2 separate regions of the Homo sapiens genome follow, and region 1 is linked to region 2. Evidence: promoter capture Hi-C in 16 types of primary human blood cells and fetal thymus (Javierre and others, 2016). All regions are on one chromosome and are shown on one strand. Each heading gives the region's core, a stretch centred on a gene start or on the middle of the fragment in contact. The rest is flanking DNA. Distances are from core to core; before and after follow the strand shown. Region 1 holds the start of ASPSCR1 (ASPSCR1 tether for SLC2A4, UBX domain containing). Region 2 overlaps CCDC57 (coiled-coil domain containing 57).

Region 1 (6,287 bases), core at 1-2,500, 230 kb after region 2:
CCCTGTAGTTCTGCAACCTGCCTTAAACTTGCCTAGCACAAGCTACCCCCTGGCTCTGGCACGGTTCTGTGCACCTGCTGCCACTGCCTGCACCGCCTCCGCCCCTCTTCTCCATAAAAAGCCAAAGCCGTGGCCTTGCACCAAGGGGTCCCGCGCAGCCTCTGCGGGAGCGCCCCACTTCCGCACTCTGCACGCCTGGCACCAACAGCCTCCTGGCTGCGCCCTCCACCTGCCCAGGCCTGGGGACCCCACGCCGTGGGCTGCTCCCGCAAACTCCGAGTCGTGTGCACCTTCGGATCCTCACGGTCCCCCACGCAGCAGAGGCTCAATAAATACTTTTTTTTTTTTTTTTTGATATGGAGTCTCGCTCTGTCTCCCAGGCTGGAGTGCAGTAGCGCGATCTCGGCTCACTGCAAGCTCTGCCTCCCAGGTTCACGCCATTCTCCTGCCTCAGCCTCCCGAGTAGCTGGGACTACAGGCGCCCGCCACCACGCCCGGCTAAATTTTTTTGTATTTTTTTAGTACAGACGGGGTTTCACCGTTTTAGCCAGGATGGTCTTGATCTCTTGACCTCGTGATCCACCCGCCTCGGCATCCCACAGTGCTGGGATTTACAGGCGTGAGCCACCGCGCCCAGCCAATACTTTTACATTTAATTGATTCGCGGTCACAAGGTGCCCAAGTAAAAGTGCAGTGAGTGACTCGGCAAAAATCGCTTCCAGGCCCCACGGCCGGGACATCTGCCACCGCGCAACCCGGGCTCCCGCTCCGGGGGACGCCCCGGAATGGGAACGCGGGTCTAGGGCTCCACTCCTCCCTCTTCCCGGCGCCCTCGCGAGCTGGGCTCGGCCGGGCGCCGAGTACTCGATGCGGGTGACACGCGGCGCCGTTCTACCTCACCCCTGGGAAGGCTCGCCACCGCCCCGCCCCCACTCGGGACCCCCGGGACCCCCGGGACCCCAGCGGAAGCGCAGGTGACGGCGAGCAGGGGGCGGGGCCGCCGCTCAGGAGGCCGCTCATTGGCCGCCGAGGCCCCGCCCCCGAACACCGGGACGCCGACCGCAATGGGCGGGGCCTCGGCGCAGCGCCCCCCGCCCGCCTACCCGTCCGCCCCGGGCGGGCGGCCGCACCTGAAGCAGCACGGTGCTCGGCGTCACCTTCACCGTGTGGCGCCGGCCGTTCGGGGCCAGCACCGACACCGCGGAGCCTCCGCCGCCTGCCGGGGCCGCCATTTTCCGCTCACGTGACCCGCCGCCGGGCCGGCGTCAAACAACTTTATCGGCAACAGCCAGGACGCGCAGCCACGCGGCCAGGGGGCGGGGCCGCAGCGCACTTCCGGGTCCTGCCAGGCCCCGCCCTTTCCCCACCCACGGCGCCCCGGCCCCGCCCTTGGGCCGCCAAAGCCCGCGCCAGACCCGGAAAGCGCGGTCGTCCTCTGCCTCCGGGAAGCGCGGCTTGGATGGGCTCGCCGGGGCCAGGCTGGGCCGGGGCTGGGCGCGCGGTCACCCCCGGTGAGCGGCACTGAGCCCCGGGGTCCCAGCGGTCCGCGCTCGCCCACCCTCGCTTCGTCCCTGACACGTCCCCAGCTCGGTGCCCTGCTCTCCCCCGACCCTCCCGGCTTCCTCCACTCCAGCAGCTGAGCCTCTTCCCTGCCCACCTGTCCCTGTGGTCAGCGTCCACCTCCTGACCTTATGGTTTGGGGCAGTCCCCCCGCCCCTGTACGGATCCTCCCTGGGTGTTGGGACTCGTGGCCCTCAGTCTAGACCTGATTTCTTTCATCCTAAAATGGGAGTGCAGAATCTGGCAGCCCTAGGGCTGCCGCGACGGTCCCTAAACCTGAGGGTAGGAAAGGCGGGAGACCGGTTTCAGAACCGTGGGGTGAGCGAACTTGAGTCTCACCGGAGCTCCTGCCGACCCACAGGCACTCAAGGACTTCCCGCACCAACCCATGCTGAGGAGGGGCTTGGTGGCAGCCTCAGGAAACACTCCCATCGCCAGCCACCGCAGCAGGGAAAGCACCTGGCCTCACCAGCTCCAGGCTTCCAGAAGGAGCTGCCCTCCTGACTCGCAGCCGTCGAATGTGCTTAGCTCCCAGCACCTGGGCCACTCATGGACAGCACTCGCACGTGTTCCGCCCCGCCCCCCACCTCCATGGCTCAGCCGGGCCTTGGCACTCCTCTCTCCATGTGCCTGCCTGTCTCTGCGGACTCCTGGCTAGGGCTCAGCTGCCCAGTAGCCTGTGGAAGGGGGAACTGGTGCAGTTATCAGTCAATCCTCCCACAGGGCTGGGATTACACACGTGAGCCACCGCACCCGGCAGTCATTGCTGAGTCTAAGGACATCTCTGCATGGGTGCTGTTGTGCCTTCCTGTCGATGACATATCCATGTCACCCACACACACCTGTATGCTGACAAACACGGACATCTATGTACATTGGAGAAACCTGGGGAAAGCCCCAGGCTAGCCATAGCCCTCCCATCCAGCCAGCCAGTCCCATGCTCTGTGCAACCTCAGAACCTTACTGAGCCACACATCACCTGGTGGGTTTTAATTCTTTAGTGGCGTTTTTGAAGAGTCTGTTCCTATTTTCCTTAGACTGTCCCACAGTCTGGATCCTTGGTTAAACGTTTGGGGCAATGATGAAGGGAGGTGACAAGTCAGCAGGAGGTGCAGGACATCAGCGTGGCCATGAGTGAGGACGTGAAGTTGAACCACTTGGTCAGCTTTGGGTCTGCTGAATTCCTCCATGGTCAAGGTCCGTGGCTCCTTGTGGAGTAATTAAGGCATGCGTGAGGTCATTCTCTGAGACCACAAGCATCAAGTTTTCCCAATAACCATTTGCCCAACAGTTTTAGCATCAGTTAATGAGTAGATTCAGTGTTAAACCGTAAAGCTGCAAAATCATGGCTTCCCAAGTTTATTGTTTCTTCTACATTTATAGTCACTTTCGGTCAAGCTTCCCCTTCTTTAAAAAGTTATTAAATATTTGGGAGGCTGAGGCAGGAGAATGGCGTGAATCCGGGAGGCAGAGCTCGCAGTGAGCTGAGATCACGCCACTGTACTCCAGCCTGGGAGACGGAGCAAGACTCTGTCTCAAAAAAAAAAAAAAAAAAAAAATTAAATATGGCCAGGCGCGGTGGCTCACGCCTGTAATCCCAGCACTTTGGGAGGCTGAGTTGGGCAGATCACAAGGTCAAGAGATTGAGACCATCTTGGCCAACATGGTGAAATCCTGTCTCTACTTAAAAAAAAAGTACAAAAATTAGCCGGGCATGGCGGTGCGTGCCTGTAATCCCAGCTATTCGGGACACTGAGGTAGGAGAATCACTTGAACCTGGGAGATGGAGGTTGCAACGAGCCAAGATCGCACCATTGCACTCCAGCCTGGGCGACAAGAGTGAAACCCCATCTTGAAATATATATATTTATTAATATGAATTCATGTATTTTTTTCATTCAGTCAGCATTCTTTTTGATGCTCAAATTGGTCCGAATTTGGCCAGTGAGACCTCCTTTAAGCTGGCTCCTATGCTTTTTTTGATAGGAGGGATGATCTTTTATCCTGATATTATTTCAAACTTAGCCGAGCAAGGTGGCTCACACCTGTAGTCTTAGCTACTCCGGTGGCCGAGGCAGGAGAATTACTTAAGTTCCAGCCTTAGTGAACCACTATTCATGCCTATGAATAACTACTGCACCCCAGCCCGAGCAACGTAGTACGATACCGTCTCAAAAAAGGAGAAGGAGAAGAAAGAAGAAGAGGGAGGAGGAAGGAAGAAAGAGAAGAAAAGTTTGCAAAAGCAAGAATTCCTGCTGTATATCTTTTTTTTTTTTTTTTTTTTTTGGAGATGGAGTCTCCCTCTGTCGCCAGGCTGGAGTGCAGTGGCGAAATCTCAGCTCACTGCAACCTCTGCCTCCCGGGTTCAAGCGATTCTTCTGCCTCAGCCTCCCGAGTAGCTGGGACTACAGGTGTGCAGCACCACACCCAGCTAGTTGTTGTTTTGTTTTGTTTTGTTTTTTGAGACGGAGTCTCGCTCTGTTGCCCAGGCTGGAGTGCAGTGGTGCAATCTCGGCTCACTGCAAGCTCCGCCTCCCGGGTTCACATCATTCTCCTGCCTCAGCCTCCCGAGTAGCTGGGACTACAGGCACCTGCCACCATGCCCGGCTAATTTTTTGTATTTTTAGTAGACATGGGGTTTCACCATGTTAGCCAGGATGGTCTCAATCTCCTGACCTCGTGATCCACCCGCCTCAGCCTCCCAAAGTGCTGGGATTACAGGTGTGAGCCACCACGCCCAGCCTCCTGTATATCTTTTAGCCAGATAAATCAGTGTTTACATGTCACCCCATTTGTTTTATCATATTCTCTTTCTCTCTCTCCATATACATGTAAAAACTTTTTCTGGCCAGGCACAGTGGCTTACACCTATAATCCCAGCACTTTGGGAGGCCAAAGTAGGAGGATCATTTGAGCCTAGGAGTTTGAGACCACCCTAGGCAACATAGTGAGACCCCAGCTCTACAAAAAATACAAAGGTTAGCTAGGCATGGTGGCATGTCCCTGTAGTCCCAGCGATTTGAGAGATTGAGGCAGGAGGATCACTTGAGCCCAGGAGGTCGAGGCTGCAGTAAAGACATTGAGCACCTTCGCCACTAAATACTTCAGTTTTTCTCTTTCCTAAGAATAAGGCCAGTCTCAACCAGGTGCAGTGGCTCACGCCTGTAATCCCAGCATTTTGGGAGACCAAGGCGGGTGGATCACCTGAGGTCAGGAGTTCAAAACCAGCCTGGCCAACATGGTGAAACCCTATCTCTACAAAAAATACAAAAAGTAGCTGGGCGTGATGGCAGGTGCCTGTAATTCCAGCTACTTGGGAGGCTGAGGTGGGAGAATTGCTTGATTGTGGGAGGTGGAGGTTACAGTGAGCCAAGATCACGCCATTGCACTCCAGCCTTGGCGACAGAGTGAGACTCAGTCTCAAAAAAATAAATAAATAAAATAAGGCCAGTCTCTTATATAGCCACCATAATTTCATACAAAATTGGGAAATCTAATGTTGGTATCATACTCTGAGTTAATCCACAGTTAATTGTCCAAGTGTGGACATCTTTCCTGCATCCTTTTGGCATTTCCATTATTCTTTGGGCATCTCCTCTCTGCCCAAGCCCTGAAGTCAGCCATTTTTCAGAGAAACCCCAATCCCTTTTACAAGGAAATGGGATTTAGAGACCAAGTTCTGGGTGCTGAGTGTGCTCATGGCTACTGGGATGTCACTGCTTTCTGGGCCCTCTCAGGGGACACAATTAGTGTGATGAATTCATCTGAATATTTCTAAGCCACACCTCAGCCTTCTCCCCCTTCTTCCCTCATTCCATATTTGTATTTGGTTGAATTCTATTAAATTGCCCTAGTTAACCTTTTTTTATCTTCTTTTTTTTTTTTTTTGAGACGGAGTCTCACTCTGTCACCCAGGCTGGAGTGCAGTGGCGCAATCTTGGCTCACTGCAAGCTCCACCTCCCAGGTTCACGCCATTCTCCTGCCTCGGCCTCCCGAGTAGCTGGGACTACAGGCACCGGCCACCACACCCGGCTAATTTTTTGTATTTTTAGTAGAGACAGGGTTTCACCATGTTAGCCAGAATGGTCTCAATCTCCTGACCTTGTGATCCGCCTGCCTCGGCCTCCCAAAGTGCTGGGATTACAGGTGTGAGCCACCGCACCCAGGCTTTTTTTTTTTTTTTTTTTTTTTTTTTTGAGACAGAGTCTCGCTCTATTGCCCAGGCTGGAATACAGTGGCACGATCTCGGCTCAGTGCAACCCCCATCTCCCGGGTTCAAGCGATTCTCCTTCCTCAGCCTCCTGAATAGCTTGGATTACAGGCGCTTGCCACCATGAGCAGCTAATCTTTGTATTTCTAGTAGCGATGGGGTTTCACTGTGGTGGCCAGGCTGGTCTTGAACTCCAGACCTCAGGTGATCCTCCCACCTCGGCCTCTCAAAGTACTGGGATTATAGATAGGCATGAGCCACTGCGCCCAGCCGATCATTTTTGATCTACAAAAAAATGACAAAACCTACATGGTTCAACCTAATACCTCCTTTGTCCGCAGTGAGAACCCTAATTGTCAGTAAATCAGTATATTTATTCATTTGCTTTGTTCTAAAATGCCCTCCAAATAGTTTCAGAGGTACTGCGGCAATCTTGCTATTAACAACAGATCTACTGTGGAAATTTCAAGATGTCTTTGTAGCTATTTTTGTCCTTTAGAGTATGTCCCATTAAAG
Region 2 (6,032 bases), core at 3,115-5,614:
GCTGGCTTGCAGGGGCGCGGTCTCGGTGTTAGTGCATCTTTTTATTCCATGGATTCTAACCCATCGCTATCACGTACTTTGTTGCTCACATTATCCAGATTGAGGTGTTAGGAGCCCCTTCAAGTTGGCCTCTCTGTCCTTATAGCACGTCCCAACCTTCTGGGAGCATTTTCTTTCTTTCTGGCATCACAGAATTCAGGCTTATCTTATGCTTGCCTTGACATATCCCAGAATCAGTCATTTCTCCAAGGAGCCCTGGTTCCTTTTAGTTTAGAAGGTAGTGTTTAGAAACCAAGATCCCAGTACCAGATAGACATATTGCTACTGGGATGCCATTTCTTCTTGGCTTTCTTAATGGATAGAGTAGGAAACGTGTTTCTATACACTATACACATGCAAATCTATTTCAGTATATCTGTGTCTCTGTATATATTAAAAACTGGCTGGGTACAGTGGCTCACGCCTGTAGTCCCACCACTTTGGGAAGCTGAGGGGGGAAAATCGCTTGAGGTGAGGAGTTGGAAACCAGCCTGGCCAACAAAGTGAGACACCCATCTCTATAAAAAATTACAAAATAAATTAGCCAGCCATGGTGGCGTGTGTCTGAGTCCCAGCTACTCTGGAGGCTGAGGTAGGAGGACCATCTGAGCTCAGGAGTTTGAGGCTGCAGTGAGCTATAATCATGCCACTGCACTGCAGCTCGGGTGACAGAGTGAGATCCCATCTCAACAAACAACAAACACCAAAAAAACCTGTGAGTTTATTACAAGTTACGCACTTGTAATCAAGTTAGGTTCACCTGTTTCTACTTCATTTTGAGTCCTTACTGATTTTAAGTTTTTTTGTTTTTTGTTGTGCTTTGTTTTTGGCACATGAAACATGTATACGTGGTTCTAAAAGTCCGCAAAGTCTAAACTCAACTACAAGACTTCGACTTCAACTTCTATTTCTCACTTACTCACTTTTTTTTGGCAAATGCACGTTCAAAGAAAACAGCCCTTCATGTTCCTTCGTGGTAGTGGTGCCCCTCTTCTCCAGCAAGTGCCACTGACAGAATTCAGACCTACTGCCCATCTCTCTTATTTCAGTTTTAGAAATGGCTGTGGCTACTCTTCGGCAGTCAGTGGAGGAAGTGAAAAAAAACACGGGGTCACAGGTACATAATTTTTGTCCCCTGGACCTATTTAAAGAGTAGATGAGAGGCTGGGTGCAGTGGTTCACACCTATAAGTACGTGGGAAGATCGCTTGAGCTGTAGCTTTTAGATGGGCATTCGAGGCTGCAGTGAGCTGTGATTGTGCCACTGCACTCCATCCTGGGTGACAGACTGAGACTCTGTTTCAAAACAAAAGAGTAGATTACTGAATTTGGCCTCCCAGAGGGCTTAGCAGCACTCTCTGGAATCCAAGAGGGGCCACAAGAGCTAAATTCAGTACATTTAAAGGTGAGAGGATCATTTGAGGCCAGGAGTTCAAGACCAGGCTGGACAATATAGTGGAACCCCATCTCTACAAGAAATTTAAAAAAAAAATTAACTGGGCATGGTGGTGCCTGCCTGTAGTCCCAGCTACTCAGGATGCTGAGATTGAGTCCTCTGTCCTGAGTACAAAGTGAATGAGCCACCCCAGACCTGCCTTCCAGTCCCAGGAAGTGTCTTATAAGTTAAGGGTATTAGGCCAGGCACGGTGGCTCACGCCTGTAATCCCAGCACTTCGGGAGGCCGAGGCGGGTGAATCACGAGGTCAGGAGTTCAAGACCAGCCTGGCCAAGATGGTGAAACCCCATCTCTACTAAAAGTACAAAAATTAGCCGGGCATGGTGGCGGGCGCCTGTAATCCCAGCTACTTGGGAGGCTGAGGCAGGAAAATAGCTTGAACCCAGGAGGTAGAGGTTGCAGTGAGCCAAGATCGCGCCACTGCATTCCAGCCTGGGCAAGAAAACAAGACTGTCTAAAATAATAATAATAAGTTAAGGGTATTAAATATATTTATACATGGAGGTCATAAAAATATATATATTTGGGCTGGGCGCAGTGGCTCACACCTGCGCCCGGCCCTTTGGGAGGCCGAGGCAGGTGGATCACCTGAGTTTGGGAGTTCCAGACCAGCCTGACCAACATGGAGAAACCCCTTCTCTGTGTATTTTTAGTAGATTTTATTTTATGTGTATTTTATTCACAGGTATTTCTGGAAAACTCAAACTGTTTTTCCTCTACTCTGATACCACAAGAATCATCAGCACAGAGGAAGACTTCTGTGATCAAATGTGGTGGGAGAGGGAGGTTTTCACCAGCACATGAGCAGTCAGTTCTGCCGCAGACTCGGCGGGTGTCCTTCGGTTCAGTTCCAACACCGCCTGCCTGGAGAGAGGTCAGACCACAGGGTGAGGGCTCAGTCCCCAAGACATAAACACCCAAGACATAAACACCCAACAGGTCCACCCCGCCTGCTGCCCAGGCAGAGCCGATTCACCAAGACGGGAATTAGGATAGAGAAAGAGTAAGTCACACAGAGCCGGCTGTGCGGGAGAACGGAGTTCTATTATGACTCAAATCAGTCTCCCCAAGCATTCGGGGATCAGAGTTTTTAAGGATAACTTAGTGTGTAGGGGGCCAGTGAGTTGGAGATGAAAGCGTAGGGAGTCGAAGGTGTCCTTTTGCGCCGAGTCAGTTCCTGGGTGGGGGCCACAAGATCGGATGAGCCAGTTTATCAATCCGGGGGTGCCAGCTGATCCATGGAGTGCAGGGTCTGCAAAATATCTCAAGCACTGATTGATCTTAGGTTTTACAATAGTGATGTTACCCCAGGAACAATTTGGGGAAGGTCAGAATCTTGTAGCCTGTAGCTGCATGACTCCTAAACCATAATTTCTTTTTTGTTTTTTTTTTTTTATTTTTGAGACAGGGTCTCACTCTGTCACCTAGGCTGGAGTGCAGTGGTGCAATCACAGCTCACTGCAGCCTCAACGTCGTAAGCTCAAGCGATCCTCCCACCTCAGCCTGCCTGGTAGCTGAGACTACAAGCGACGCCCCAGTTAATTTTTGTATTTTTGGTAGAGGCAGCGTTTTGCCGTGTGGCCCTGGCTGGTCTCGAACTCCTGGGCTCAAGTGATCCAGCCTCAGCCTCCCAAAGTGCTGGGACAACCGGGGCCAGTCACTGCACCTGGCCCTAAACCATAATTTCTAATCTTTTGGCTAATTTGTTAGTCCTACAAAGGCAGTCTAGTCCCCAGGCAAAAAGGGGGTTTGTTTCGGGAAAGGGCTGTTACTGTCTTTGTTTCAAACTATAAACTAAGTTCCTCCTAAACTTAGTTCGGCCTACACCCAGGAATGAACAAGGAGAGCTTGGAGGTTAGAAGCACGATGGAATTGGTTAGGTCAGATCTCTTTCACTGTCTGAGTTATAATTTTGCAATGGTGGTTCAAAGACTGCCCGCTTCTGACACCAGTCGCGAGTCCTGGCCTCCGGAACTTCTGACTGACCACTGGCTTCAAGTTGGGGTTCCCACAGCCCCCTCTTTGGGTTCGATTGATTTGCTGGGGTGACTCACAGAACCCAGGGAAACACATACGTGTAACAGTTTATTATAAAGGGTATTACAGAGGATACAGATGAGGAGATGCGTAAGGGGAGATATGGGGGAAGAGGCTTCCTGGAGGACCCCCCCACACCCCACCCACCACTCCCCAGGAACCTCTCCACACCCTGTCCTCTTGGGTGTTTAGGGAGGCTTCCTGAAGTCAGCATTCCTTCCCCCAGGGTAGAGGGTGGGAGCTCTGGGGAGGATCTTATGACCTACAATGGAAAGTCAGGTGAGAGTGGAGACCTGGAAGGATTCTGTTTCCTGAGGCCTGACACGCCCAACATTGCAACAAAAGACTGTGACGTGTGAGAGTTATGAGCCAGGAACTGTGCAAGAAAACCATGATGTGTCATTGTACCACAACAGGTAAACCTACAACATCACCGTTAGCTCAGCTCAGTATTTTTAAAATGAGAAAATCAAAGTGATGGGATGCCCACCCATGCTGTTCCAGCCCCTGCTGGGAGCTGGCTGGTTCAGGGAGCCCCACTGGTTCTCCTGAAAGAGGGTGAACGCACAGCGAGGCCTTCCCTCCCCGGCGGCTTCTCCTGCCGCTCCCCAACCCGGAAGCTTCATGGTCCTTCTTGAAACCAGGTGCTTGCTGGGGACGCCTGCTGGCCGACAGGCAGATTGCGTCCAGATGCTGAGTCCGTGCTTTTGAAAGCCAATTAATCTCAGCCTTGGGGCTTTGGGGATCATCCCGAGATGGGATTTGTACAGAAACAGAGCAGGCCGTTCTATGATGAGGTCAGAAGGAAAGGCGAGCCGAGCCCGGCTGACTTACAGGCCCTTGGTGTGTGGGGCTTCTTATGGGTCCTGAGTGTGATGGATAAAGCGCTGGAGATGCTGGGCTCTCACCGGGTGCTGCACCGAGTCACTTGCTGTATGGATTTTTCAGGCTGCTCTTCTGTGCAGAGCACAGAGGCCTGGGAGCACCCATCTCACATAGAGGGGGTGGTACGTGCCATCTGCCTGTCCTGGCTGCCTGAAGCTTTTGAAAACAGGGTGACCCGCTGAGTCCTGAGACCTGGTGGGAAGGAACCTCACCCAGTGGGGAGATGGGGGCATGGGGACCTGGAGTAGCACGTGCACAGGAACTGGCAGATAAAGGCTGCTCTGGGCCTGCAGGGAGCAGCTGGAGCCACGCAGGCTGGGCCGTGTCCTCGGTCTGTCTTCATACGCTGTGCCAAGGAGATCGGACTTTATTTTGAAAATGGTCAGGAGTCGCGGGCACATTTGAGGCCAGATAAGATTGCATGATCAGATTCTCAGAACGGCAACCCCCATGGGTGGCTGCGACCAATGAGTTAAGGAGGCAAGCCCAGTGGCAGGGCAGCTGGTACAGGACGGGGGCCACAGCAGTCCCTCAGAGAAGAGGCCCGTAGACCTCGCAGACCTCAGGCTCTGCAGAGAACCGTTGTCATGACTCACGGGCACTGTGTGAAGGGTTCTGAGTCATCAGAGATCACAGTGGTGTTCCATCATTTAATGTGTATTTGCTGATAGTCCAATTCTTTCCCTGTGTGTGCACAGGTGTGTGCACAGGTGTGTGCATGTCCTCTGTGTACAAAATGTTTCAGTCGCCAAGACTGTGCCAGACAGTGGGACTCACTACACCCGACACTGGGGTGATGGCGTTGTGCCAACGTGAGATGGAAGTTAGGAAAGCTTCCCTGCAGTGATGTTCAGGTTGAGGTCCCACTGGCAGGAGGAGCCTGCCCTGCGGTTAGGAGGAACCTTGCAGACAGAGCGGCACCTGCCACACATCCCAGGCTCTGAGGGCACGTGGCAGCGACAGGCAGGAGCCTGGGGTCCAGATGTCCTCAGTGGAATGGGAAGCCTGGTTAAGCCTTTTTTTTTTCTTGAGATGGAGTCTCTCTTTGTTGCCCAGGCCGGACTGCAGTGGTGCGATCTCAGCTCACTGCAAGCTTCGCCTCCGGGGTTCACGCCATTCTCCTGCCTCAGCCTCCCAAGTAGCTGGGACTACAGGCGCCCACCACCACGCCCAGCTAATTTTTTGTATTTTTAGTAGAGACGGGGTTTCACCGTGTTAGCCAGGATGGTCTCAATCTCCTGACCTTATGATCCGCCCGCCTCGGCCTCCCAAAGTCCTGGGATTACAGGCATGAGCCACTGCGCCCGGCCCTGGTAAAGCATTTTTGAAAAGATTCCTTTGGCAGCCAAAAAAGTGGGAGTGCACAGCAGAGGCCAGTTGAGGTCTCTTGTGGTAAGACACTGTGGTGGCCGAGGTGTGGGCACAAGGTGGGAGACAGCAAGAGGTCAAGGATCATTACACGGGGTGGACGGTGGGGCCGTTGTAGGAGCTGAGGGAGACGAGGAACAGGAGCGTGGGAGAGTGCTGAGATGGTCGGTAGGGACCCTGTTAGCTCCGGCAATGGGTGGGCACGCAGCAGCTTGGAGGAGCCAGGCTGAGGTGGTCCAGGTGGCGTG

The links. Contacts are between HindIII fragments. The CHiCAGO score rates a contact against its expected background, and 5 or more counts as called.
Region 1: the fragment with the promoter of ASPSCR1 here is called in contact with a fragment that was not itself captured in region 2 in 1 of 17 cell types (total CD8 T cells); the score reaches 5.0 in total CD8 T cells.

Annotation. Positions count from the first base shown.
Region 1 is chr17:81,972,592-81,978,878 of GRCh38, reverse strand. ASPSCR1 (ASPSCR1 tether for SLC2A4, UBX domain containing) reads right to left here and starts at 1,250. Exons shown (of 16, transcript NM_024083.4): 1 at 1,131-1,250. The coding sequence starts at 1,232. LOC105371939 (a long non-coding RNA gene) reads left to right here and starts at 1,394. Exons shown (of 2, transcript XR_933953.4): 1 at 1,394-1,511; 2 at 1,922-2,911. It overlaps LOC124904087 (a long non-coding RNA gene), which reads right to left. Exons shown (of 2, transcript XR_007065951.1): 2 at 2,544-2,768. RefSeq lists a silencer at 755-1,614 and enhancers at 1,093-1,864, 1,865-2,638. The HindIII fragment of the contact is 4,025 bases long and covers 1-2,960 here.
Region 2 is chr17:82,204,196-82,210,227 of GRCh38, reverse strand. The region is part of intron 1 of CCDC57 (coiled-coil domain containing 57); the gene reads left to right. Among named protein-coding and RNA genes, the nearest start is that of CCDC57, 5.6 kb to the left of the region's middle. RefSeq lists enhancers at 3,712-3,821, 3,892-3,951, 3,436-4,237, 4,061-4,355, 4,282-4,461 and 1 more. The HindIII fragment of the contact is 421 bases long and covers 4,154-4,574 here.